Linked DNA regions of Homo sapiens: all the other regions are linked to region 3. Evidence: promoter capture Hi-C in 16 types of primary human blood cells and fetal thymus (Javierre and others, 2016). All regions are on one chromosome and are shown on one strand. The core of a region is centred on a gene start or on the middle of the fragment in contact, and the rest is flanking DNA. Distances in the headings are between cores, read along the strand shown.

Region 1 (3,439 bases), core at 535-3,034, 320 kb after region 3:
TGGTAGAGACGGAGTGTTTCACCATGTTGGTCAGGCTGGTCTCGAACTCCTGACCTCAGGTGATCTGCCCATGTTGGCCTCCCACAGTGCTAGGATTACAGGCGTGAGACACCGCACCCAGCCTCAACTCTTTTTTTTTTTTTTTGGAGACAAGAGTCTTGTTCTGTTGCCCAGGCTGGAGTCCAGTGGCACGATCTCAGCTCATTACAACCTCCACCTCCCGGGTTCAAGCAATTCTCCTGCCTCAGCCTCTGGAGTACCTGGGACTACAGACGTGCGCCACCATGCCCAGCTAATTTTTTTTTGTATTTTAGTAGAGACAGAGTTTCACCACATTGGCCAGGATGATCTTGATCTCCTGACCTCGTGATCCACCTGCCTTAACCTCCCAAAGTGCTGTGATTACAGCCATGAACCACCGTGCCCAGCCAAAACTGTACTTGTCTCCTTCAAGCTGGAATCGAACCAGCAACCTAAGGACGTCTCCTACTGAGGAAGTAGCTATAGTCCTCTGCTCTACCAGCTGAACTATTGAAGGGACCTTAACTCTTGATATCAGAATTCAGTCTTATTTTTAAGATTTAAGAAAAATGGGGAAAAAAAGGAAAGGATTACTGTACAAAAATAGCATATGGCCTGCTCTGTAATTAATACCCTGTGACATCCCTCCTTTAGTCACTGCAATGGCAACAGGAACAAGTTGGTATGCCTGCGTTTGCCTACCTTAAAATGTTAACCAAGGTTCTGTGCAGATTTAGGTATTCTGCTGTGTGAACTCATTAAAGCGGCACAAAAGCAGCAAGTGCACCCTGCTCACCAAAGGTAATGTAGCCAATGTTGTCACCCACAGCGGCGTCTGTGTCTTTCAGCTCCAGAGGAGGTTCCCTGTGGCTAAAGAGGACCTGTGGGGCTGTGTGGCTGGCTCTGCGTCCTTCTTTGAACTCCTGCCAAGACAAAGCAAAAGCAACCAGAAGAGAAGTGGGTGTAAGATGAGTGGCAACTCAAGCTATAGGGTTTGTTCTATGTGGTGTGACCTTTGTAGCCCTCCAGACCAGCAGGAGGTTAAAAATAAACTACACCAAACCTGAAATATGACAAGTGCTAGCTGCTACCACTACACTTCAGATTCAAACGGGAGAGACTGCAAAGTACTTAATAAGTCAGATCTTCAAAATGTGATGAAAAGTAGTGATAATCCTTTTCCTTTGCACTAACATAGGTGATAAACTACCATACTTTCTCTGGGCTCTGGGACTTTGCATGAGTCTTTTTTCACTGAGGATCCTGTTGCTATTTAGAATTCATCAATAAAATCTTTAGAGCAAACTTAAGCTCTTCTTGCGGACAGAAGACAATGGAATGAAAGAAGCTGAGTTGTCTTGGTGCTCATAAAGGAAGCCCTTCCTTCTATGTTCCAATCTCCAAACCTGAAGCTTCTACAGTCCATACATTCCTATGTAAATAGACAAGTAATACAAGGCTTCTCTCTCTCAGCCAGATCTGCAAGAACAGAAGTAGATTTTCTAGCAATGCCAGTAAAACTGGATAATCCAAATTCATCAAGTGGGCCTTCCAAGATGATAGACAGCAGGAGGATGCTGCCAAGGACTCTCCAAGGTCTCTTGTTTTAGGAGTTCTGAAGGCATGGTTACACAGCCATGTGGCCTGCGTGCCCTTCTACTGCTGCTCAAATACTGCCTCCTAATACCATCTCCAACAAACCCAGGCAGGTACTGCTCTCTTGCTGGAGCTGCCATGTCTTTTCTACAAACCTCTACTATGATATTTTACCATTCATTAATGTATCTGGCTCCCCTACCAGGTTATGAGTTCAAATCAAAGATCCTGCTTAATTTATCTTTGTAATTTATTCTTCTGTCTTTCAAAGAGGCTATGCAGCACATGCCTTGCTGAGAGAAAGCAAGTGCTTCTACCCTAGCTGGTTTAGTATCATCACACTGTACAGGAATAGGCAAGGGCTGTTTCCAGTTGCAGGCAGGAAGAATAAACACTGATTAGCAAGCCCTCTCGACAATTAGTGGCAAAAGAAAGATGATGGCTGAGGAGCCCCAATGCCCAGCCTGGGACCTCACCTATTTCACAAACTGCCTCTCATGCTAACACTACCAAGCTTTAAGTAGGAAAAGAAATGACCATCAACTGGGTTAGATTAGTCCCCTTTTGAACAGATTTTGTTCCCCGAAGGAAAAATATCCAAAAAGGAAGGGAAGGAGTCAAGATTATCCCAAATGGAAATTTCTAGAGCAAAGCTTCTAAAATCGCCCTTCTCTAGAAAACATTTTTTATTCTACAAAGGGGTTAAGAAGCTTTTTAACTTTTACTGGTTTTACTTTTCGGTATTAAGGAATTAAACAGAACAGATACGTAACTGTTGGCATTTTCTTGTGTCTGTTAAGTGTCTCCAAGGCTCTAATTCACAGGTACATGTGGTATTCACAATGAGATGGGGTATTTATAAACCAGTGGTGACTTATTAGCACTCATTAGTTTTGTATATGGAAAATAACATATTTAAGGCTCGGTCAACGATACGTTTCTGGCTTGGGCCTATTCTTTCTTTCTTTTTTGAGACAGGGTCTCACTCTGTCACCCAGGCTGGAGTGCAGTGGCGTGATCTTGGCTCACTGCAACCTCCACCTCCTAGGTTCAAGTGATTTTCATGTGTCAGCCTCACGAGTAGCTGAGATTACAGGCGTGTGCCATCATTCCCGGCTAATTTTTGGCCTTTAAAGTAGAAACAGGGTTTCACCATGTTGGCCAGGCTGGTCTCAAACTGGCCTCTAGTGATCCACCTGCCTAGGCCCCGCAAAGTGCTGGGATTACAGGCGTGAGCCACTGTGCCTGACTGGGACTATTCTTTAGATTCTCTGATGTCTTTGCTTCTCCTCAGTTCTCTCTCCTAAATAAAGCTTAAACAAACAAACACACCCAAACAGCCCTCCATCTTCATTGGCATCTTTGTTATACGTAATCAAGCAATATTGCCTTTTTACTCTCCTTCTGGCTAGGATGTCTTTTGAGCATCAGATTATTTCTCTCTTCCAAAGTACTATTTATCATAGGAAGTTCGGAATAAATCCAAATATATACAAGGCATTTAGCATATGATAAAAGTAGCATCTTAAATCAGGGGTGTAAAAAAGGAAATAATTGCCACTGGGACCACTGGATAGCCATTTAGGAAAAAAAGATCATTCTTTCATACCATACAACAAGAGGAGCTCTCAACAAATAAGAAAAAATCATGTATAAAATATGTAACTGTAAAAATACTCAGAAAATAACAGGTAAATTTCTTTATAACCTTCGAGTAGGGAAGGGCTTTCTACCTATAACTCAAAATCTAGAAGCCATAAAAGGCAAGACTGATTAATTTGATTATGTAAAAACAAACTTCCACATGGTGGAAAAAACCCCA
Region 2 (3,228 bases), core at 9-2,508, 300 kb before region 3:
ACTGCCCTCTGTCTCCTCACTTTCACCAGTAGCTTCCCAAGAGGAACCAGAAGGAAGGAAATATTGTTGGGTGTCAAGAGGTATGCATCAGAAGCTTCTGATGCCCCTGTCCCTTTAAAGAGGAATTGCTAGTTCTTCTCCAGCTTGCAGATCCAGGACCTAGATGTGTGACAGGAGTGAACAAGAAGAATGCCAAGGGGAGATAGCGAGTTTCCAGGAGAGGCCAACCTGGTCGGGAGATAGGGACCCAGGTGATAGCCCCTGAGGTGCTAGTTCTAGCAAAACCACCTTCTTCTGGAGCCTGGCAGCCTGAAGATCAGTCTCCCCCAAAACTGTGGGTCCAGCCCTGGTGGTTTAAATATCTTTATTGATACTAACCTCACCCACCATCCTGTGGCCAGCAGTTCTGGGGAGCCCAGTATCCAGAGGCCTTTAGACTGGCTTTTTTCCAGTCTAAAAAACTGTTTCCTCCTAGAGGCCAAGGGGAGGGAGGGCCTGTACAGTGTCCTTTAAACGCTCCCCGAGCGCCTTTTCGGGGCCGTCTGGCGCCCTGGGCCTTCGTGGGTGGGCGTTCCTCTCAAGCCCCTCGCCTCACCATTTCCAGAGCCCTGGGAGTTGGGCTTTGGCAGGGAGAGGCTGGGCTCGAGCGGCGAGAGGCGCCCGGTGCCGGTGCCCTGAGGTCCCACAGGTGCGAGCCACCGCTGCGCGAAGTCAGTCTAGCGGCCGGGCGGCGGGTCACAGGCAGAGGCTGAGCTCCTTGCGCACACGGCAGCGGTGGCACTGTACTACGCAGCACCAGTGGAAGCGGCACAGGCAGTTCTCTTCGAGCTGCACGCTCTCCTGGCGGTGCCCGCGGCCGCAGCACAGCAGGTCGCAGCCGCTGAGGTCCGGGGCGCTGCTATTGCAGGCGCGACCGCGCGTGCCGGGGGAGCCGGTGCGTCGGTTGGGGGCGCAGAAGTCGGGCGAATCGGCGGCGTAGAGGAGGTCCGCTCGGCCCGGCGGCTTGAGCGTGCGGACGGCGGGCAGCAGGGCCTTGCCGTCGTTGGTGCCCATGACGCGTGAGGCGCCGTGGAAGCGCTCCAGCAGCCGCGCGCCCACCTCGCGAAATGGAGGCAGCTTCTGCCAGCAGGTGCGCAGCGCGCATGATCCCGACAGCCCGTGGCATTTGCACTCGGTGCGCGTGTGGCTCCGCACGGCCTGCGGGAGGCAGAGGGGCGGACGCATGTGGACAGGTAGGGGGTGCAGGGAAGGGCCCAGCGGATGGACAGAAAATAAGATTGGGAATGGGAGGTGAAAGGAAGAGAGGAAAATGCAGACAAAAGGAGACCGCAAGTTCAGGGGGAGGAAATCAAGGAAAGGACAACTCGGAGGGGAGGAGCAGGAGGAATGGTGAGGATGGAGGAATATGATGATGACGAAGAGGGGAGACGGGGACAATATGCAGCGCAGAGATTCCAGGGTCCAAAGGCAGGGGGTGGGGGAGAAAGCAGAATGGACAGCAGGGGTGAGATTCTCTTTGGAGGAGGGGAGAGGTGGCAGCTGTCGAAGTCTAGCTCTCCTGCCTACCTGGCCCCCTCATTCCTACCCCTCACGGCCCCCAGGCCGGGCTGAGCACAGACGCAGAGCCAGCCTCCTGGGCATCTGTCTCCGTCACCCCTCCCCAACCCTCTCGGCAGGTATGTGGGCCTGTCCGGACATTCCTCTTCAGGCCCCCTCCTCCCCCTGCCCGATGCCTCAGGCCCGAACCCTAGAGGACACGGTATGTATGGCGATGTCCCTGGAGAACGCTAGAACGGAGGCATGGGGTGCAGGAGGGCCCGCTGGGAATGCAGTACTGAGAGTGGAACCCAGGCGGCCTCTCCCCTAGTCACTGTCTGAAGCAGGGTCTAAGATTCCCAAACCCACCAAGCGCTGATGGTTCAGAAGACCCAAGAAAATCATTTCTGGAAGCTCAGAGTCCAGGGGCTAACCTGACCATGTGTCCCACTCCCACCTCCTGAGTCTGCCCTGCCCCCTCCTGGAACCATCACACCCAGACAACCTTCTTGCCCCTGAATGAGAGCTCCTGGGGCTCTCCTCGTTACAGAGGGGAGAGGAGAGGCTGCCATGGCTCTGGGCAGGTGAGACCTGGGCTGGTGTTGCTGGGCAGCCAGTTGGCAAATGCCCAGAATTGGTCACAGCTGTCCTGGCCTCCACCTGACTCCCTCCAACCTCCACTAGGATTGGTTCCTTGTCCTTCGCTCTTTTCCATTGCCCCTCAGACCTGTTCTAACTCTTTCTAGGCCTCTCTCACTCCCCCTGGCTTCCCTGTACCAAAACCCCAGACCTTGCATTAGCTTCTATCCTGTCTTTCATCCCCACCTTTGTTTTATTCTCCTGCCCCTGCCTAGGCATCCAGACCTCCTACCCACTGCAAGCTTTGCTTCACCTGTCCTGTCTTGAAGCTGTGCCCTCTCTGCCTGGGGTCACTAAAGACCCTCAGTCCTATTCCCTGAGTGTCCCTTCCCCCATTCTGCCCGCTGTACCGTCCAGCATCTGGCCTTCTCAGACCCCCACGTGACTCCTTCTTGGAGGCTGGACACCTCTCCTCCCACATGTCCATCCATGCTTGCAGCCCATCTTTCCGCCCGTGCGCACTCCCCCACACATTAACGCCCCCCTCCACCTACACACCCTCACTCCTGCCAACACTTCCTCAAGCACACTCCTGCGCGCACACTCACATTTCCGCACACACTCACTCCATCCTGCCCGTACGCACCAGCCTGCCCGCCTCGTTGTTGTGCAGTTGCACCAACGCGCGGATGTCTCCGCGTCCCCGCTTGTGCCGCGCGTCCATAAAGAGCCTCGACTTCTCGTCCCCGAAGTCCACGTCGTCGCCGCAGCCTCCCCACTCCCAGGCGGCGCTGCCTTCCGGGGAGCCCGCGGGGCCAGGGGGTCCGGGGGTGCCGGGCAGGCCGGAGGGCCGGGGAGGGGCCCGCCCGCGGGGCGCCTGGCAGCCGCACTGCAGCAGCTCGCCCATAGAACAGGCCTGCGTGACGGCGTGGCTGGCGCCGGCCGCAGTGATGGCGAACACGAAGGCCGTCTCCCGAATGTCTGTGAATGCAGACAGGTGCAATCAGCGCGGGCTGGGGCGGTCAGCTGGGGCCTGGGACCTGAAACCTGCGGCGGGAGGGCTGCCCCAGGGGCCTGGGAGGCAGGGTCCTTGCAGGGTGCCCAGACACATGT
Region 3 (3,399 bases), core at 530-3,029:
TATTCTTTCATGCAGCAAAGTATCTGAGTCTTTAATCTTGTACTAGGAACTGTCCTGGCACCGGGGAAACCACGTCAACAGGGCTCACATGATCCCTGTCCCTGCCCTCAAGGAGACAGACAACAAATAAACGAATACAATAATTACACGGGGATCAGGGCTGTAAAGGGTACTCTACTAAAGTTAGAGGCTGCGGAACTAATTTGAAGAGGATAGTCAGGGAAGGCCACTCTGAGACCGATTTAGGCAGAGACCTGAAGAAAGATGGATTTGGATAAACAGTTTAAGGAGAGGAAGGAGAGTTCAAGGAAGAGGTACCAATTACACTCATGCTGTGTATGTAAAGGAGGAGGGATAAGAAGAACATTCACTCCAGGCATAGAGACCACAAAGTGCATCTTGGAGAAAAATAAGCGCGTTGCAGAGGGTTAGGTGGCCAGAGTAGCTGAAGCTTTAGGAGCAAGAGACATAAAACGAGATTATAAACGTGGGTTAAGTACCACATCATACAGGGCCGTGCAGGCTATGGCAAGGAGTCTAGATTTTATTTAAATGCCAAGAGAAGTAGGATTACTTCGGATAGCTGAATTACACTATCTTTCTTTTTTGTTAAAAGATCACGCGGGTAAAACGAGATGTGTCGAGGAAAAGTTTTAAATGCAGAGAACCTAAGTCAGATGCAAAAATTATGCACTTTTCCGGGCCTCAGGTTTTCCATAAATAAAGCAAGTGGTTTGAACTAGAAGCCATTTCCTTCCCGCTGCGACGTGGTGAGTTCTAAGAGCAGGGGCCGCGTCAGATTGACCATGGAATTCCCCTCATCGACGCCGGCGCCCAGAACACAACTGGCGCCCTGAAACTGTTGGTCAGCGCAATAAATCAATGAATGGCCTGCTACGGGCGTGGGACCAGGCCCCGGCGCCCGCAAAGAACGCGATGGGTCGCGCTGAAGGCCGCGAGAGGCGTCCGGCAAGGAAATAGGGGCCGGCTCCACCACAACCAAAGCGTGCCGAGGAGGGGAACCGGGGCCTTGGAGATTGAGGGCAGAAAAAAATCAGACTAGGGACCCGACACCGGGAATTAGGAGAGAAGGCCGAAACGTGGGTCTGAGAAAGGATTCTGGTTCCAAGCCTGGGGGCCCAGCCACTCACCGCAGCCGTCGCCAGGCTGTGCATGTTGTGAGCGGCCGCCGCTCTCTTCCACAGCCGGACGCGTCCGACCCGCGTCCCCCCTTCAGCACCCCTGCAGCGGAAAACAATGAGCCGCCGTAGCCGCCATCCGACTCCGGCTCGCTCCGCCCACTTCGCGGCCCTCTGACCTCTCACCCCTGACCCCACCCACACATCCTCTTCCCGCCTCCAGGGCCTAGTTAACAGTCCCAGAGTATGTCCTTTGCCCCTTAAGATTTAGGACCGGAAGGACGTCCGCGACCACTAGTCCCCGCAACTTCTGGCTTTGAGCAGTTATTTCCAGAGAGCGGCGTGAACTCTGACCCTCCTCCAAAAGCCAGTGAACGGCGGGAAAAGATGGACAGTCCCGGCAAGACAACTATTGCGCATGCCCGACTGGGTTGCGTAGGAGGGAAATGGTGGGGGGGCGTCGAAATCGGGTGAGGTGGAAAGTGCGCGTGCCTACTACAGTCACGGCAGGGGCGGGGCTGCCCGGGCTAGGCCGCTCTAGGTACTGGCGGGGCGGGGCGAGGGCGTGTGAGGGGCGGAGTTTTCGACTGACGCGCACGCGCCTGTCTGGTCGCGTCGAGTGTGCGTGCGTGCGTGCGTGTTTGCGTGTGGTCACAGTTCCCGCCATCAGCCGCTCTCCCTGACTAGGGGTAGCTAGCGGCCTCCCTCCTTTGGGTTCGGTATCCCTACTTCCATTACCCTCGGCTCCTCCCACTCCTCGCGGGCTCCGTGCTTTCCGCGGGTCTGTCCGGGGGCTCCGGACCCTCGGCGCAGGTAAGGCGGGCCGGGGTAGCTTCTCAATTGAGCCGTTTTCCCTACCTCCTCCTCCTTCTGTGCGATCCGCCCACTCGGCGTTCACTCCTCTGGAGTTCGCCCTGCTGCTACTCAGCCCGCCCACAACCCCTCGATGCACCCCCAGCCTCACAGGTACTACCTTTGGGTGCACTGCCCCGGCTTCCACCTCTCCTTTGACTTGGTCTCCACTGCCACTCGCTCCCTCCGAAACTCAAACCTGGCCCCTTTTCTCTGGGGCTGTTGTCGTTCGCCTCTTACCTTCTAACAGGGCCTGCTGTCTCTTCAGGTGACTTTCGTTACGGCACATCCACCAGGCCTTGGACATGATACTCATTCACTCTCTTGACCATCTTCACCTTCCTCTTGACCAGTCCTCACTGCAAAACATGAATTGTATTTTTGTTGTGCATTTCCTTGCGCCCATTTCTAGCCGCCAGATCAGGTTGTTAGATGTAACTATTTTAAGTCATGATCCATGAAAGGAAATGATGATTGATGATAAAATCCTGTGTCCTGAAGAGTTGTCCTAAAGTGGTTTTGGGGTATTCCTCTCAAAATTTCAGCTCTGTATAAATTCCTTTATTGAGGTGGCAATTCCTGACAAGTGTCTAACTGGAAGAGATACCTGAGAGGGAATGTCAAGTAGGCAGTTGGATATAGTGGGTTTGGAGATCTTAGGAGAGTTCTGGGCTGCGTACGTAAATGTGCGCGGTGTGTGTATGTGTTTGTCATCTGCCATATTGATAGTAATTGAAGCCATGGATGTGGATGAAATTGCCGAAAAAGAGTATAGTGCTGTAAAATAAAGGCACCTAGGATGGAGCATTGACGAATTCCTGCTGTTTAATAACCAATAGAGGAGGATGCGTCTTGCAAGCCATGAAAAAAGTCATCAGTAGTGTTGCATTCTGCTGAAAGGTAAAATGGAAGGAGGACTGAAAAACCCAGTGATATAAAAGTACTCACTTGTCTTAAAGATGTTTGATGAAGTAAAATGAGTATTTGGGTTCAGTCCTAGGTCCTCTTCTTTTACTCTTATATTCCTCCCTAAGCTTTAAATTTGATCTATATATTGATGACTTAAAAATTGTTATTTCCAGCCTATTCCCTTTGTTTTCAGCTCCACATCTAGATAGCCAGCTGTCTGCTTGACATCTCAACTTGATTTTTTTCTTAGGAGTTTCAGATGCAACACAGCCAAATCCAAAGCCTTGATCTTTCTCTCCATATCGAAATTCTTTCTTCTCCAGTGTCCCAGTTTATTAAGTGGCACATGACACAGGCTACACACTTGGGAGGCATTCTTGACTTCTACTCTCTCCAAGTTCTATCCTACTTCCAATACGTGTCTTGCATCTTTTTCTGTACATTTTCACTGTCACTTTTCTAGTTTAAGCCACAGTCCTTAAAAAACCTGGACTTGATT
Region 4 (3,178 bases), core at 238-2,737, 490 kb after region 3:
TCCAATGGCCATTGGATTGCTATCTGTTTATCTGTCCCAGGTCTTCTAGAGCAGGCTGGGCCAAGTTTGTTCACCACACCTGCTCATGGCCATTGTAGAAGCATACTAAATGTCCATGGAATGAATGGGTCCCTCGGCACTTCTATTCTCTGTGTTGAGGAACTCATCACCAGCTTGATGCCCACGGGCTCCTTTCCCGGGAGTGAGCTTTGTCCTTAGCTCCCTGGCTCCCAGGCATCAGGGTAGCACATCCTCTTCTGAGCCTCAGGGTCAGCTGTTACTCACCATCCTTACTCTGAGGACTCCAGGATCGATCTCCCAGCGCACACTTCCCTCCTGAGTTCCACACTTAACTGCTTGCCCAGCGGCTCCCGTCTGACATGTCTAACAGGTATCTCAAACGTAACGTGTTCAAAACCAAGCTCTGAACTTTCCCTACAAATCTGCCCTGCCACAGCCCACACACTTCAGTTAATGGTGACTCTAGCTTTCCAGCTGATCAGGTCAAAAAGCTTAGAGTCATTCTCAACTTCTGTCTTTCTTTCATACAGCATATCCAATTCCTCAGGAAGTTCTACTTCACACTTCATCCAAAGCCCGGCAGCTTCTCCTTGCTCCATGCTGCCAGCCCAGTCTGAGCACCCCAACTCTCCCCTGCATGGCAGGGTCCTCGCTGGACTCCCTGTGTTCAGCTTGCCTGCTAACAGGCCAGCTCCAAGGGGCCTTTAAAACGCACATCAAGCCGGGCACCGTGGCTCATGCCTGTAATCTCTACACTTTGGGAGGCTAAGGTGGGTGGATCACCTGAGGTCAGGAGTTTGAGACCAGCCTGGCCAACATGATGAAACCCCATCTCTACTAAAAATACAAAAAATTAGCTGGGCGTGGTGGCAGGTGTCTGTAATCCCAGCTACTCGGGAGGCTGAGGCAGGAGAATCACTTGAACCCAGGAGGCGGAGGTTGCGGTGAGCCGAGATGTCGCCACTGCACTCCAGCCTGGGCAGCAAGAGCGAAACTCTGTCTCAAAAACAAAAACAAAACAAAACAAAAAAACCAACAACAACAAAAAACATGCCAGCCTCTAACAGGCTGATCTATAGAGAAAGTGGACTGGTGTTACCTAGAGCTGGGAAAGGAATGAGGAGTGGCTGCTAATGGGTACAGGGTTTCTCTTTGGGGAGATGGAAATGTTCTGAAATTGATTGAGGTGGTGGATGTATAACTCTTAAATATACTAAAAACCATTTAATTGTTAAGCATTTGAAAAAGCATGTAAACATCTTTTTGACATTAAAAAAAGTCAAGTCTCTCTCCTACTCTGAGCTCTCAGTGGCTCCCATCTTCCTCTGAGTCAAAGTCGAGGCACTTCCGATGACCTCGCAGGCTCTCCCTAACCTGCCTCCTTGGCTCACCTGACCTTTTCCCACATCCTCTCCCTCCCTCACTCTACTGGGGCCCGGAAGGCCTCCTTGGATGTTCCTAGAACCTGCCCTGCCCGTCCTCCATCAGGGCCTTTGTTTTTGCTGTTCTCGCAGCCTGGAACATTCTACCGAATAGTCAAAGGGCTTGATCTTCACTTCCTTCAGGTCTTTAGGTCAATGTCACATTTACAGGGAGGTCTTCCCTGGCCATATTACCTTATTAAAATGTAAAATACCACACCAACATGTCCCATTCCTCTTGTCTGCTTTATGTCTTCTTCTTAGAACTTATTCCAATCTGATATCCTAGGTACTTTACTTGCTAATCACTTTTATTGCCTCCTCCACTAGAATGCAAGCTCCATGAGGGCAGGCGTTTGGCCTGTTTTGTCTGTGAGAGGATTTCCCATACCTAGGACAGGCCTGGCTCAGAGTGGGTGCACAGGGTGTTTGTGGAATGACTGAATGATGAGTGACAGGTGGCCGGAGCACTGTGGTCTGTGAGACAGGGTCCCCAGTAAAAGGAGCAGCCAGGGCCAGGCCATCTCTCTATAACCTCCCAGCTGCTCCTCCCAGACTGTCTTGAACCCTTGAAGACTCTTGTGTGGCCAGAACCCCCATGTTCATTTTGCCCTGAATCGTGGAAACCTTTGCGACCACACTGTGTGCTCAGCTGAGTGTGGAGTGGGAGGAGCCTGGGGGTCCTTTTGGGTTGGTTTCTGGGCTCCTGGGCCTCTCTCACCTGCGAAGCAGACAGCCAGAAGGCTTCCTAGTGATTCAGGCTGAATCACAGCTACTCAGGCTCTGCTGGGGTCCGACTGGTGTCTGTTGGACCTGGGGCAGGTGTTAGCCATGTGGGAGAGAGAGACAGGGGCAGGTGGGCAGACTGACGTACCCGGAGACCACAGGAGAGAGACACAGAGAGGCTGAGTCAGGCCACGGAAGATCTCTGCAGTGAGAAGAGACTTTAAAAAATAAATTATGGGCTGGGTGTGGTGGCTCATGCCTGCAACCCTAGCACTTTGGAAGGCTGAAGCTTGAGCCTAGGAATTTGAGACCAGTCTGCACCATGTAGTGAGACCTCGTCTCTACAAAAAGAAAGAGAGAGAGAGAGAGAGAAACTGAGACCTGAGAGACTGAGGACTGAGGGGGGATGGTAGAGACAGACAGCGTGCTGTGGGCCCCTGAGGTCAATGTGATGACGGAAGATGAAGACACTGGATGGTGAGAGACACTGAGCAGGAGAAACGGAGAGACTGAAGTGCAGGCACTCGACATGCTGCCTGAATGGGGCGTCTGAGCCCACTGGTTCTGGAGTCAGCTGCAGGCCTTGAATCTCAGCTCCCCCGCTAACTAGCCAATGGTGGGTGAATTGTGCAGCATCTTTGAGCCTCAGCTTCCTCCTCTATAAAATGGGGGTTCTATAGAACTCATCTCATAAGGGTGTTACGCAGAAGCACCGACAGCAGTGCCTGGGACGTAGTAAATGCTTAGTAAATGATAGCTGTGATTATGAGAGGGTGAGAGGTGGCATAACAGGAAGAAGCAAATGAGACACAAAGAAACTGAGTAAAAAAGGGAGACAGAAAGAGATGGGGGAAAGAAGTCCAGTGGAGTAGGGAGGCAGAGAGGGTGAAAAAGAGAGAGGAGCTGCCCAGGGGAGGCAGCAGAGGGAGGCAGGGGTGAGGGTGGGAAGGAAGCAGGCCAGGAGGCGGGGCCTTTCCTGGGGCTGCTCCTGCTCTGGGAGACCTACGAGA
Region 5 (3,491 bases), core at 870-3,369, 380 kb after region 3:
GCACTCTGGCCATGAGGCAAGGAGGGGTAGAAAGTGTGGCAACCAGTTACAGGTTAAAGAAGTTGGCCAAGACAATGCCAGCTGATAGCCCCAACATGTTATTGTGAACAATTTTAAACATAAAGAAAAGTTGGGCCTGGCGCAGTGGCTCACGCCTGTAATCCCAATACTTTGGGAGGCCGAGGTGGGTGGATCACCCGAGGTCAGGAGTTTGAGACCAGCCTGACCAACATGGAGAAACGCTGTCTATTAAAAATACAAAAAATTAGCCAGGTGTGGTGGCTCATGCCTGTAATCCCAACTACTCGGGAGGCTGAGGCAGGAGAATTGCTTGAACCCAGGAGGCAGAGGTTGCAGCGAGCTGAGATCACGCCATCGCACTCCAGCCTGGGCAACAAGAGTGAAACTCCATCTCAAAAAAAAAAAAAAAAAAAAAAGAGAAAAGAAAAGTTGACAGAATTTCACTGTCTACTTGTACATCTACTACCTAGATTCTGCCATTAACATTTTACCTGCTTTATCTCATATTTATCCATTATCCATCCCTATAGCCATTAATCTATTCTTTTGGATGTGTTTCAAAGTAACTGTGGACACCAGTATACTTCTCCCTAAATACATCAGTGTGTACATCATTGATTAGAGATCAATATTTGTTTATAGTTTTTTTTTTTTTTTTGAGACGGAGTCTCTGTTGCCCACACTGGAGTGCAGTGGTGCGATCTTGGCTCACTGCAACCTCCGCCTCCCAAATTCAAGTGATTCTCCTGCCTCAGCCTCCCAAGTAGCTGGGATTACAGGCATGCGCCACCATGCCCTGCTAATTTTTGTATTTTTAGTAGAGACGGGGCTTCACCATGTTGGCCAGGCTGGTCTCAAACTCCTGACCTCAAGTGATCCTCCTACCTTGGCCTCCTAAAGTGCTAGGATTACAGGCGTGAGCCACTGCACCTGGCCTTTAGTGTTTTCTTTTGATGTAAAATTTGTAGACAATGAAGTGCACAAATCTTAAGTGTATATTCACTAAGTTTCAACTAATAGGTGCCCCTGTGTAATCCCAATGCCCATCAATATAGAAAACATTACCATCATTCCTAAAAATCCTCTCATGTCCCCCCATGGCTGGTTTGTCTCTGCCTCCATCCTCCCAGAGGTAACTTCTGCTCTGATTATTTTCAGATTAGTTTCACCTGTTCTAGAACTTCATAGAAGTGGAAGGCTTCTTTTACTCAGTGTAATGTTTTTAAGATACATCATGTTGTGGAGTATATCAGTAATTCAGTCCTTTTTATTGATGAGAATGACTCCATTGTATGACTATTCCACTGTATGTTTAGCCATTCTCCTATTGATGGACACCTGGACTGTTTCTAGTTTTTGGCAATTATCAATAAAGCTATTGATATTTTTGTGAACATATTATTTTCATTTCTCTTGGGCATATTCCTAGGAGTGGGATTGCTGGGTCAGAAAGTAGAAGAAACTGCCAGACCTTTTACCAAAGTGTTTGCACCATTTTACATTCCCACTAATTATATGTGAGGATTCCAGCTATACTACAACCCACTAATAGTCGATATTATCATGCTTTTGTATTTTTAGTCATTCTGGTGATGTGATGTTTGATTGTGTAATGAGATTTCTTTTCTTTTTCTTTCTTTTTTTTCTTTTCAGATAGAATCTCACTTTCACCCAGGCTGGGTCTCAGCTCACTGCAACCTCTGCCTACGAGGCTCAAACAATTCTCCCACCTCAGCCTCTTGAGTAGTTGGGACTATAGGTGCATATCAGCACGCCTGGCTAATTTTTGCATTTTTTGTAGAGATGGGGTTTCGCCAGGCTGCCCAGGCTGGTCTCAAACTCCTGGCCTCAAGTGATCCACCTGCCTTGGCCTCCCAAAGTGCGTGGATTACAGGCGTGAGCCACTGTGTCTGGCCCACATTGTTGATAAAACCTTCCTTTCCCTCACTGGATTGCTTTGGAACTTCTGTTGAAAATCAAGTGATGGTGTAAGTGTGGCTCTATTTCTAGGATTTCTTTTACATTCTAGGTTTAGCTGAGTTTTGCCATGAGCTCAGTGTTGTCAAATCTTCAATTTTTTTTTTTTTTTTTTTTTTTTTTAAGATGGAGTTTTGCTTTTGTCTCCCAGGCTGGAGTGCAATGGTATGATCTCGGCTCACTGCAACCTCTACCTCCCGGGTTCAAGTGATTCTCCCGCCTCAGCCTCCTGAGTAGCTGGGATTACAGGTGCATGCCACCATGTCCAGCAAATTTTCATATTTTTAGTGGAGACAGGGTTTCACCATGTTGGCCAGGCTCTTCTTGAACTCCTGACCTCAGGTGATCCACCCGCCTTGGCCTCCCAAAGAGCTGGGATTACAGGCATGAGCCATGGCGCCCAGCCCAGATCTTCAAAATTTTAAAGGAGAGTGTATAAATCCAGATGTTTTTAAATGTGAAAAAGCCTCAAGGTTTAAAAGTCAGAAACCAATTCTAATTTAAACAAACAAGGAAACCAATCCCAGGCAGTCAAAGAAACTCATCTGCAGGCTGAACTAGATGTGTGGCATTGGAACAGGGAGAGGTAGTTTCAGCAGGAGTCTGGATACATGTGTGTATATATATGTATATAAAATTATTTTTTGAGACAAGGTTTTGGTCTGTTGCCCAGGCTGGAGTGCAGTGGTGTGATCATGGCTCATTGCATCCTTGACCTCCTGGGCTTGAGCAATCCTCCCACCTCAGCCTCCTGAGTAGCTGGGACCACAGGTGTGTTCCACCACACCTGGCTAATTTTGAAAATTGCTTTGTAGAGGTATGAGGTTCCACTGTGTTGCCCAGGCTGGTCTTGAATGCCTGGGCTTAAACGATCCTCCTGCCTCGACCTCCTAAAGTGCTGGAATTACAGGGGTGAGCCACTGTGCCCAGCCTGGATATATGTATATTAAAGTATAAATCAAGGGTCTTATTTTAATTGAAAGATAATGGGAGTGTTCTCAGGGCAAGTAGGTGGGTTCCAGTGGTCAGTGAAAGTCAATAAGAATTCACTGCAAGGGTAAAATTAAAGCCTGTGGGTCAAGGTTTCCTTGGTGCCTAGGAAAGTGGAGGAGCACATTTGTGAAGCTATTAGAATTGCATTTAGAAACCGTAAGGACAGGAAGGGCTAAGGGGAGGCACTGAGTGGAGGCAGTTGACAAACCAGTGACAGGAAAGACACAGGGCCAAGAGAGCCCAAAGTGAGCTGATTTGGAGAATCTGGAGCAGAGGGAATAAAGAGAATCACAGGTCTCTAAACCCAGGGCCCAGAAAGATGCTCCCTGGAATTGGCTGGAGGCTTCCTTGGCTCTGTGGGTGGAAATTGAGACAGAGCAGCCAGAAGACATACAACTGCACATGCCAGAGCTTAGAGCAGTTTCTCAGCTGCACCACAGACCTCCTGCCACCATGGTTGAATTATGACTGTTTAACATTTTAAAATTATTTTTTAAACA
Region 6 (3,399 bases), core at 36-2,535, 410 kb after region 3:
GAATGCACCTACTCTGGGGGCTAAGGTGGGAGGATTGTTTGATCCTGGGAGGCAGAGGTTGCAGTGAGCCAAGATTGCACCACTGCCTTCCAGCCTGGGCAACAGAGTGAGACCTTGTCTCAAAAAAAAAATCCTCCTTCCTTAGCCCCCAGGTAGCTCGGACTACAGGCACGCAACACCATCTCTGGCTAATGTTTAAAATATTTTTTGGAGAGATGGAGTCTCACTATGTTTCCCAGGCTGGTCTTGATCCCCTGGCCTCAAGTGATTCTCCCACCTCTGCCTCTCGAAGTGTTGGGATTATAGGTGTGAGTCACTGTGCGTGGCAAAAAATATACTTATTTTAAAGTCAGATCCAAATTGCTTTATTATCTTTAGCTCCTCAGGTGTGAATTCTCCCATTTGCTGTTGACTGACTGTTGATTGTGATGATTGTCAGCTCTTTGTAACATTTTATTGTTAATTCATCTTTTGAAGGCATTTTTTTGTTTCATGGGAGTCTTGCATGTGCCCTGGATTATGAAGAAGTCTATTCAGGGGTGGCTTTATGGCTGTACCTGCTAGGGCCTTACTGGGTTACATAGCTCAGAGCATTTTTTGTTATTGATATTTCTTGGCCCTGAGTTTCCACACCATTGCAAATGACAGATTTGGGTCCTCATCACTTGATACTAGGGCTTGGGATTCTGGAATGTTCCTCAATTGGCCCCTTTTCTCTCATGACCTAGGAAGGCAGCTCACTTGGGGGTTGTGTCTCAGGCTGCAAAGTGCTTTTCTATCCCCATTCAAGGGCATGGCAGCTCTTTCTTGGTCCTGACAATTTTATAGGCAATCAAGTTGTAGTTTCTGCTATACATGGGGCCTTTAGGGTCACTGGTATTATCATTCCCATCCTTAAGGTACATGATCAATTCTAGTATCTTTCTGGGTTCCTCTGGCTTTAATCCTACTCCCTGATAAGTCCATACATTTTTAAGCTCCCTCTTCATTTCTGGCCCTTGGAGATTTTTTCTCTCTCTCTTGCCTGCTATTGACCTCAGATATTTATTTTTAAAAATTAATTAATTCATTCATTTATTTTTGAGACAGAGTCTCACTCTATTTCTCAGGCTGGAGTGCAGTGGCGTGATCTCAGCTTACTGCAACCTCTCCCTCCCGGGTTCAAGCAATTCTCCTGCCTCAGCCTCCTAAGTAGCTGGGATTACAGGCACCCACCACCATGCCAGCTAATTTTGGTATTTTTAGTAGAGACGGGGTTTTGTCATGTTGGCCAGGCTGGTCTCAAACTCCTGACCTCAGGTGATCCGCCCGCCTCGGCCTCCCAAAGTGTTGGGATTACAGGCATAAGCCACCACGCCCAGCCTTTTTAAAAATTAAAAAAAAAGTTATTTAGGATGCCTATGGAGGGCATGTTTGTGTTGCTGATTTGCTGCTATGCCTCTTCAGCCAGCCCATTATCATGACCAGAAATTCAGATAGCACATCAAACGAAAAACAAAGTTCCTTTTCTTGTTTTTTATTTCCCTTTCTTATGTTAAAACCTTCTTCCAGAAAATGTTATGTACCCCAGGAGGATACATTGACGGGATTTCTAGGTAACCCACAGTGTGTACGTGCATGTTGCTTATGCATGGGTGCATATGTATGTCTGTTTTGGGGATGAATGACCCAACGTTATTCCAGAACTATCACCCCCTTTTTTTTAGCCAGGCTTGCATCAGGGGGATGGAAGAAGTAAGATCTAGAAGGTAAATGGGGAGGGACCGCTGAAGAAATCTAGTCACTTCCGACATGGGAAGGAATTGTGTTGCCCAACTGAAACCTAAGAGGCCACATCCGTACCTCTCCCTTGGTTCCCATACTGTAAACAACATGGCTGTCTTCCTGAAAGAGGTGACTTTGCTCCAGCTTTAAAGGTATTGGGGGTGTGGGGAGACTAGGCAGGTACAGGTCTCAGGGCTGTGCAGTGCAGGGTTCCCCACTTGGCCAGCATACTTGAGCACTCCTCTGAGTGGGACCCTGGCAAGACTCAGCATGTACTGTCTTTGTGCACATTCCCACATGTTCCTAAGTGAGAATCCGCTAGTTGTCTGATTATGTAACAAATGCTTGTTTGCATCCAACTCCGTGCTAGGTCTTAAAACAAAGTAATGGGCCAGGCTCAGTGGCTCATGCCTGGAATCTCAGCACTTTGGGAGCTGAGGTGGGCGGATCATCTGAGATCAGGAGTTCGAGACCAGCCTGGCCAACATGGTGAAACCTGGTCTCTACTAAAAATACAAAAAAATTACCTGGGTGTGGCGGTGGGCACCTGTAATCCCAGCTACTTGGGAGGCTGAGACAGGAGAATTGCTTGAACCCAGGAGGCAGAGGTTGCAGTGAACCAAGATTGTGACACTGCACTTCAGCCTGGGTGACAGAGCAAGACTCTATTTCAAACAAACAAACAAACAAACAAACAAACAAACAAACAAAGTAATGTACTAAAGAAATAAAATCTAAGGGGACAAAGGAAATGTGTGAATGGAGGGTATGTGAGGAGTTTATGAAATTTCCTGTAGGGTCACTGGAACAAAGAGATCTATCTGGGGGTCCTAGTGTACCACAAGCTGAACCTGAAGATTTGGAAAAATGTTTCTAATTAAATAAAACAGAGCAAAAAGACAGACTTAGTTGCTGTGTTACTTGAATCTTCACTTAAATTTTCAGAACCTTGGTTTCCGCTCCCATAAAATGAAGTTTGAATAGGCAAGCTTCCTTCCAGTTCTAAGAATGGGAGATGCTCGAAATCTAAGAGTGTACTGCGATGGACAAACAGGACTATAGCTCTAGTGAACTTGACATGAAACATCCATCTTTGCCCAGATCGTGATTATCCACAATTAGGTGCCCTGTGAAGGCCAGTTCTTAGTATGTGTTTTCCAGGCAGCTGCTGACCAAGTCTGACCTGAGGAGTTCCTAGAAGGCCTCTCTCTGTCCCCTTCTCTTTCTCCTCTCTTCCACCTCCCCATCCAATATTTCCCTCCCTGGTCTGTCAGCCATTCTTTTATTTGGCCTAGGCAGGCCTCTTAGAAAAAGAGCAAATGCCCCTGGGTTGGGGGAATTCTTTCAGTCATTAAGCCAGGGATGAGAATGGAGTTTTGAAATTGTTCTCCAGCATAGGATCCTCTTTTCTAAGCCTTCAACTTCATGAGCAAATGGGCACACTCCAGTCCAACGTGTAAGCTCAGCCTCTCACTAACAGGTAGGTCTGTGCTCACTGGTAGGACCGCACTTTGGACTTAGATGCTAACATTAATCTGTTGGAAGATTTTGCAAGGAGACAGAGAGAGGAGCAATCTGGGATTCCTGAGGGCTTTGTTGCAAGGGAAGAGCAACGAGTTGTTGAAAGGCACCCAG
Region 7 (3,108 bases), core at 449-2,948, 430 kb after region 3:
TCCTGTACACGTTTGTCCGCCTAGATGTGTATTTCTATAGGATAGATTTGTAGCAGTGTATAATTCCTGGATTGGAGATTGTATGCATTAAAGTATATATCACAAAATTGCCTTCTTGAAGGATCGTTCCTAATTCCTCTCCTACTGGCAGTGGATGATAATATCTTCTAGTCTGGTGAATTCTGATCCCCAAACTATACAACACAAAAGCTTGCAGTCCACTCCCTGTGGTGGTTCCTTGAAATGACCCAGGTTGTCCTTTTGTTCTGATCACTGTTTCTGTATTTTTTCCCTTCATTTTAATGATTAAAAACACTTTTCTTGTGAATAGCATACATAGCACAGATTACAGAAAACTAACATTTATAGCTTAAAAAATAATAATATAATGGCTCTTAAGCATCTATCACATAGGATAAGAGAGAGGACATTATCAGTGCCCCCTAAAGCCCCCATGTGTTCCTCCCTTTCCCGACCCTTTAATAAATATCACCTGAACCTTTGTGGGAACCGTTCTTTTTCTTTAGAGTTCGCACATAAGTTTGTGCAGAGGATTTGTATTGAGTCAGCATAGATAGGATAGAACTGTATTTCCCCAAATTCTCTTCCTTTCACATTTCCAGGTCAGTGAGGGGCCAGAAGGGACCTTGTATGTGAGATCTGGAAGGTGGAAGTGGAGCAGCATCTACATTCTGTTTCAGCTCAGGAAGGTCAGTGGAAGGCACCAGACACCACCATATGATGTCACTTATCTGCCGGCTCCTGTAGGCATGGGGCCTGAGCTGGCCTGCAGCCCCTCAGGTGTGGGTTTACCTGCTTGGTGCAGGTGCCAGCTTCTCCACAGGCCATTCACATACTGAACTTGGACCAACGCAGGTATCAGCCTGTCCTGGTAGGTTCCAGCTCCTCCTCACTATTCCCACTTTACATCCATCTTTCCTTCCAGGCTGTCCATCCTACCAGCTTAAGATCCCAGCCAAGAAACAAAGCCAACAGCCTGACACTAATGGTTTAGCCAGCTCCCACAGTTGCCTAGGGTCAAATGCCTGTCACAAATTCCTCCTCCCAGTGGTTTTGCTTCTTTAATTGGCCCCTGCCTGATAAGATATGTGTCCTCTGTAGAGGGGTTAGTTGTGCCTGTCTCTGAATTTTGTTTTGGGCTCTGATTGCGTCTTTATTTATTTATTTATGAGACGGAGTTTCACTCTTGTTGCCCATGCTGGAGTGCAATGGCATGATCTCGGCTCACTGCAACCTCCGCCTCCCAGGTTCAAGTGATTCTCCTGCCTCAGCCTTCCATGTAGCTGGGATTACAGGTGCCCACCACCACACCTAACTAATTTTTGTGTTTTTAATTAGAGACTGAGTTTCACCATGTTGGCCAGGTTGGTCTCAAACTCCTGACCTCAGGTGATCTGCTCTCCTTGGCCTCCCAAAGTGCTGGGATTACAGGTGTGACCAACTGTGCCTGGCCACGATTGTGTCTTTAACTGTGCTGCCTGCCAGCCAAGAATAGGAGAACCCAGCCTGAGGCTGCTCCCACACCTGTGCCCCTGAGCCTCCTCTGGGCCTCGCTGACTGAGACTCCAGCAACCCCAGCTCCAGGCACAGATGAGTGCAGGTGCAGAAAATGTAGACTGGTCTTACCCGTGTGAGTGAAATGGTCTGAAAAGGTCATGTCTACATGTAATTTTCCATCTTGTCTGTCAGGTGCTCGAACCGAAAAGCGAAATATTTGGTAAAAAACGAACTGACTAGGAATCTTATTTCAGCTCCACTACTGTCTAGCCATGAGATTTTGGCCAGGTTGCTTTGGTAAAGCCTCAGTTTCCTCGTTTATGTATGGAAATGGGGACTTCAGGCCTCTTTGACAGACCGAGAAGGCAGATCAGGCAGAAAGGTGCTGGACCCTGAGACCTTGGGACTCAGGATCAGAAACATCAGAGGGAAGAAAGAAGTCAACAACTCAAAGGCAATCCCCAGACTCGCCTGTCCTAGGGATGGCGTGTTTGGTAAATTATTTGTGCCAAGACTGTTCTTATGAGAGAGAGTCTGAAAGAGAGAGAGAGAGACAGAGAGAGAGAGAGAGAGAGAGAGAGAGAGAGAGGAGATAGAGATGAATAACAGAGTTCACGTAAGCATAATTTAATCTCTGCCTCATTTTCCTAGGCTGATGGTATCCTTTTATTATCCTTGGAGAACCATGTTTCCTCCAGTCCTTGTGAGAGGAAAGAGCAGAGTCCTGAAACCAGAGTGAGGTGTAATTTGGCCTCTTCCCTCTGGGAGTCATCTCAGGGAGCCACCTGGTCCATCAGCCTTGTCCAGGCAGAGCACCATTGGTTCCTCTGGCAAGTCAGGTCCTTGGTAAATACACGTTCCCCTGCATTTCCCTGCTACTGAATCAGAAGCTGTTCCGAAGACTCAGCCAGAGCAGTTGAGTCGTGCTTGGTCCCGAGTTTAGCAAGTACCCAGCATAGAATGAGCAGGAAAGAAGGGATTGTTGTTGCTGAATGCAATAGGAAAGGCACTTCTGTGGCTTTTGAGTGGAAGTTCTCTGCCCCTCAAGCCCTCCCACTCAGAGGTGTGCTCCTGCCTCCCTGTTTTCCCCTAGATTTAGTTGTTAACCTGAAGGGGGTTGTTTGGGAACTGCGGACGTTCAGTTCCTCTTGCCTCCTTCCTTCCTTCTCAGGCTGCTCAGACCCAGAGCCCCTCTTGACAAAGACCCTGCAGAGACAAGCCCTAGGAATGTGAGCTCCCCCAGGGCAAGGCACTGTCTGTCGTGGTCTCTGCTGTATCCCCCCACTCTCCGAACAGTCAGCACTCCATGCTGTTGGAGGCATGATTCGAATCTTTTGTTTTCTCCTAATGACAGATTATAAACCACTTCCCCATTCTGCATTTGGGCTGTCCTGTCAAACCTGGAATGATGGGTGTGTGTTTGGGTGGAAGAGAGGGAAGAGGATAGGGCACTCACAGTGGGTGCTGCTGGTTGAGCTGGGAGAGCTCTCTGCCTTCCTGCTACCTGATCAGGGGGATTTGGTAAACTTACTCAACCCTCTGCACCTTCTAACTCTAAGTCTCACCCCTGACACTCCTGACTACTGCCTC

Evidence for each region. The method cuts DNA at HindIII sites, captures the fragments that hold promoters and counts their contacts. A CHiCAGO score of 5 or more calls a contact.
Region 1: a contact is called between a fragment that was not itself captured here and the fragment with the promoter of USP37 in region 3, in 11 of 17 cell types (non-activated CD4 T cells, total B cells, naive CD4 T cells and 8 more). The highest score is 10.9, in non-activated CD4 T cells.
Region 2: a fragment that was not itself captured here is called in contact with the fragment with the promoter of USP37 in region 3 in 2 of 17 cell types (total B cells and activated CD4 T cells); the score reaches 6.5 in total B cells.
Region 4: a fragment that was not itself captured here is called in contact with the fragment with the promoter of USP37 in region 3 in 1 of 17 cell types (neutrophils); the score reaches 5.6 in neutrophils.
Region 5: a contact is called between a fragment that was not itself captured here and the fragment with the promoter of USP37 in region 3, in 12 of 17 cell types (non-activated CD4 T cells, total B cells, neutrophils and 9 more). The highest score is 11.4, in non-activated CD4 T cells.
Region 6: a contact is called between a fragment that was not itself captured here and the fragment with the promoter of USP37 in region 3, in 1 of 17 cell types (neutrophils). The highest score is 7.7, in neutrophils.
Region 7: a contact is called between a fragment that was not itself captured here and the fragment with the promoter of USP37 in region 3, in 1 of 17 cell types (neutrophils). The highest score is 5.0, in neutrophils.

What each region holds. Positions count from the first base shown.
Region 1 is chr2:218,242,925-218,246,363 of GRCh38, reverse strand. ARPC2 (actin related protein 2/3 complex subunit 2) reads right to left here. Exons shown (of 11, transcript NM_152862.3): 8 at 818-944. It overlaps TRY-ATA1-1 (tRNA-Tyr (anticodon ATA) 1-1), which reads right to left and starts at 538; the gene lies at 446-538. The HindIII fragment of the contact is 698 bases long and covers 1,436-2,133 here.
Region 2 is chr2:218,871,353-218,874,580 of GRCh38, reverse strand. It overlaps WNT6 (Wnt family member 6), which reads right to left. Exons shown (of 4, transcript NM_006522.4): 3 at 2,762-3,096; 4 at 348-1,197. The coding sequence ends at 736. It also overlaps a transcript of WNT10A not described here. Among named protein-coding and RNA genes, the nearest start is that of WNT10A, 7.9 kb to the left of the region's middle. RefSeq lists an enhancer at 1,980-2,926 and a silencer at 3,005-3,074. The HindIII fragment of the contact is 2,323 bases long and covers 97-2,419 here.
Region 3 is chr2:218,566,731-218,570,129 of GRCh38, reverse strand. USP37 (ubiquitin specific peptidase 37) reads left to right here and starts at 1,779. Exons shown (of 26, transcript NM_020935.3): 1 at 1,779-1,952. CNOT9 (CCR4-NOT transcription complex subunit 9) reads right to left here and starts at 1,291. Exons shown (of 8, transcript NM_005444.3): 1 at 1,152-1,291. The coding sequence starts at 1,175. RefSeq lists enhancers at 697-886, 681-1,308, 1,309-1,936 and silencers at 1,597-1,656, 1,747-1,816. The HindIII fragment of the contact is 2,574 bases long and covers 454-3,027 here.
Region 4 is chr2:218,076,731-218,079,908 of GRCh38, reverse strand. All of the region lies in intron 10 of RUFY4 (RUN and FYVE domain containing 4), which reads right to left. Among named protein-coding and RNA genes, the nearest start is that of RUFY4, 9.1 kb to the right of the region's middle. The HindIII fragment of the contact is 1,945 bases long and covers 515-2,459 here.
Region 5 is chr2:218,187,717-218,191,207 of GRCh38, reverse strand. No RefSeq gene overlaps it. Among named protein-coding and RNA genes, the nearest start is that of CXCR1, 22 kb to the right of the region's middle. The HindIII fragment of the contact is 6,006 bases long and covers 1-3,491 here.
Region 6 is chr2:218,154,689-218,158,087 of GRCh38, reverse strand. No RefSeq gene overlaps it. Among named protein-coding and RNA genes, the nearest start is that of CXCR1, 11 kb to the left of the region's middle. The HindIII fragment of the contact is 2,941 bases long and covers 1-2,755 here.
Region 7 is chr2:218,137,492-218,140,599 of GRCh38, reverse strand. No RefSeq gene overlaps it. Among named protein-coding and RNA genes, the nearest start is that of CXCR2, 13 kb to the right of the region's middle. The HindIII fragment of the contact is 2,972 bases long and covers 213-3,108 here.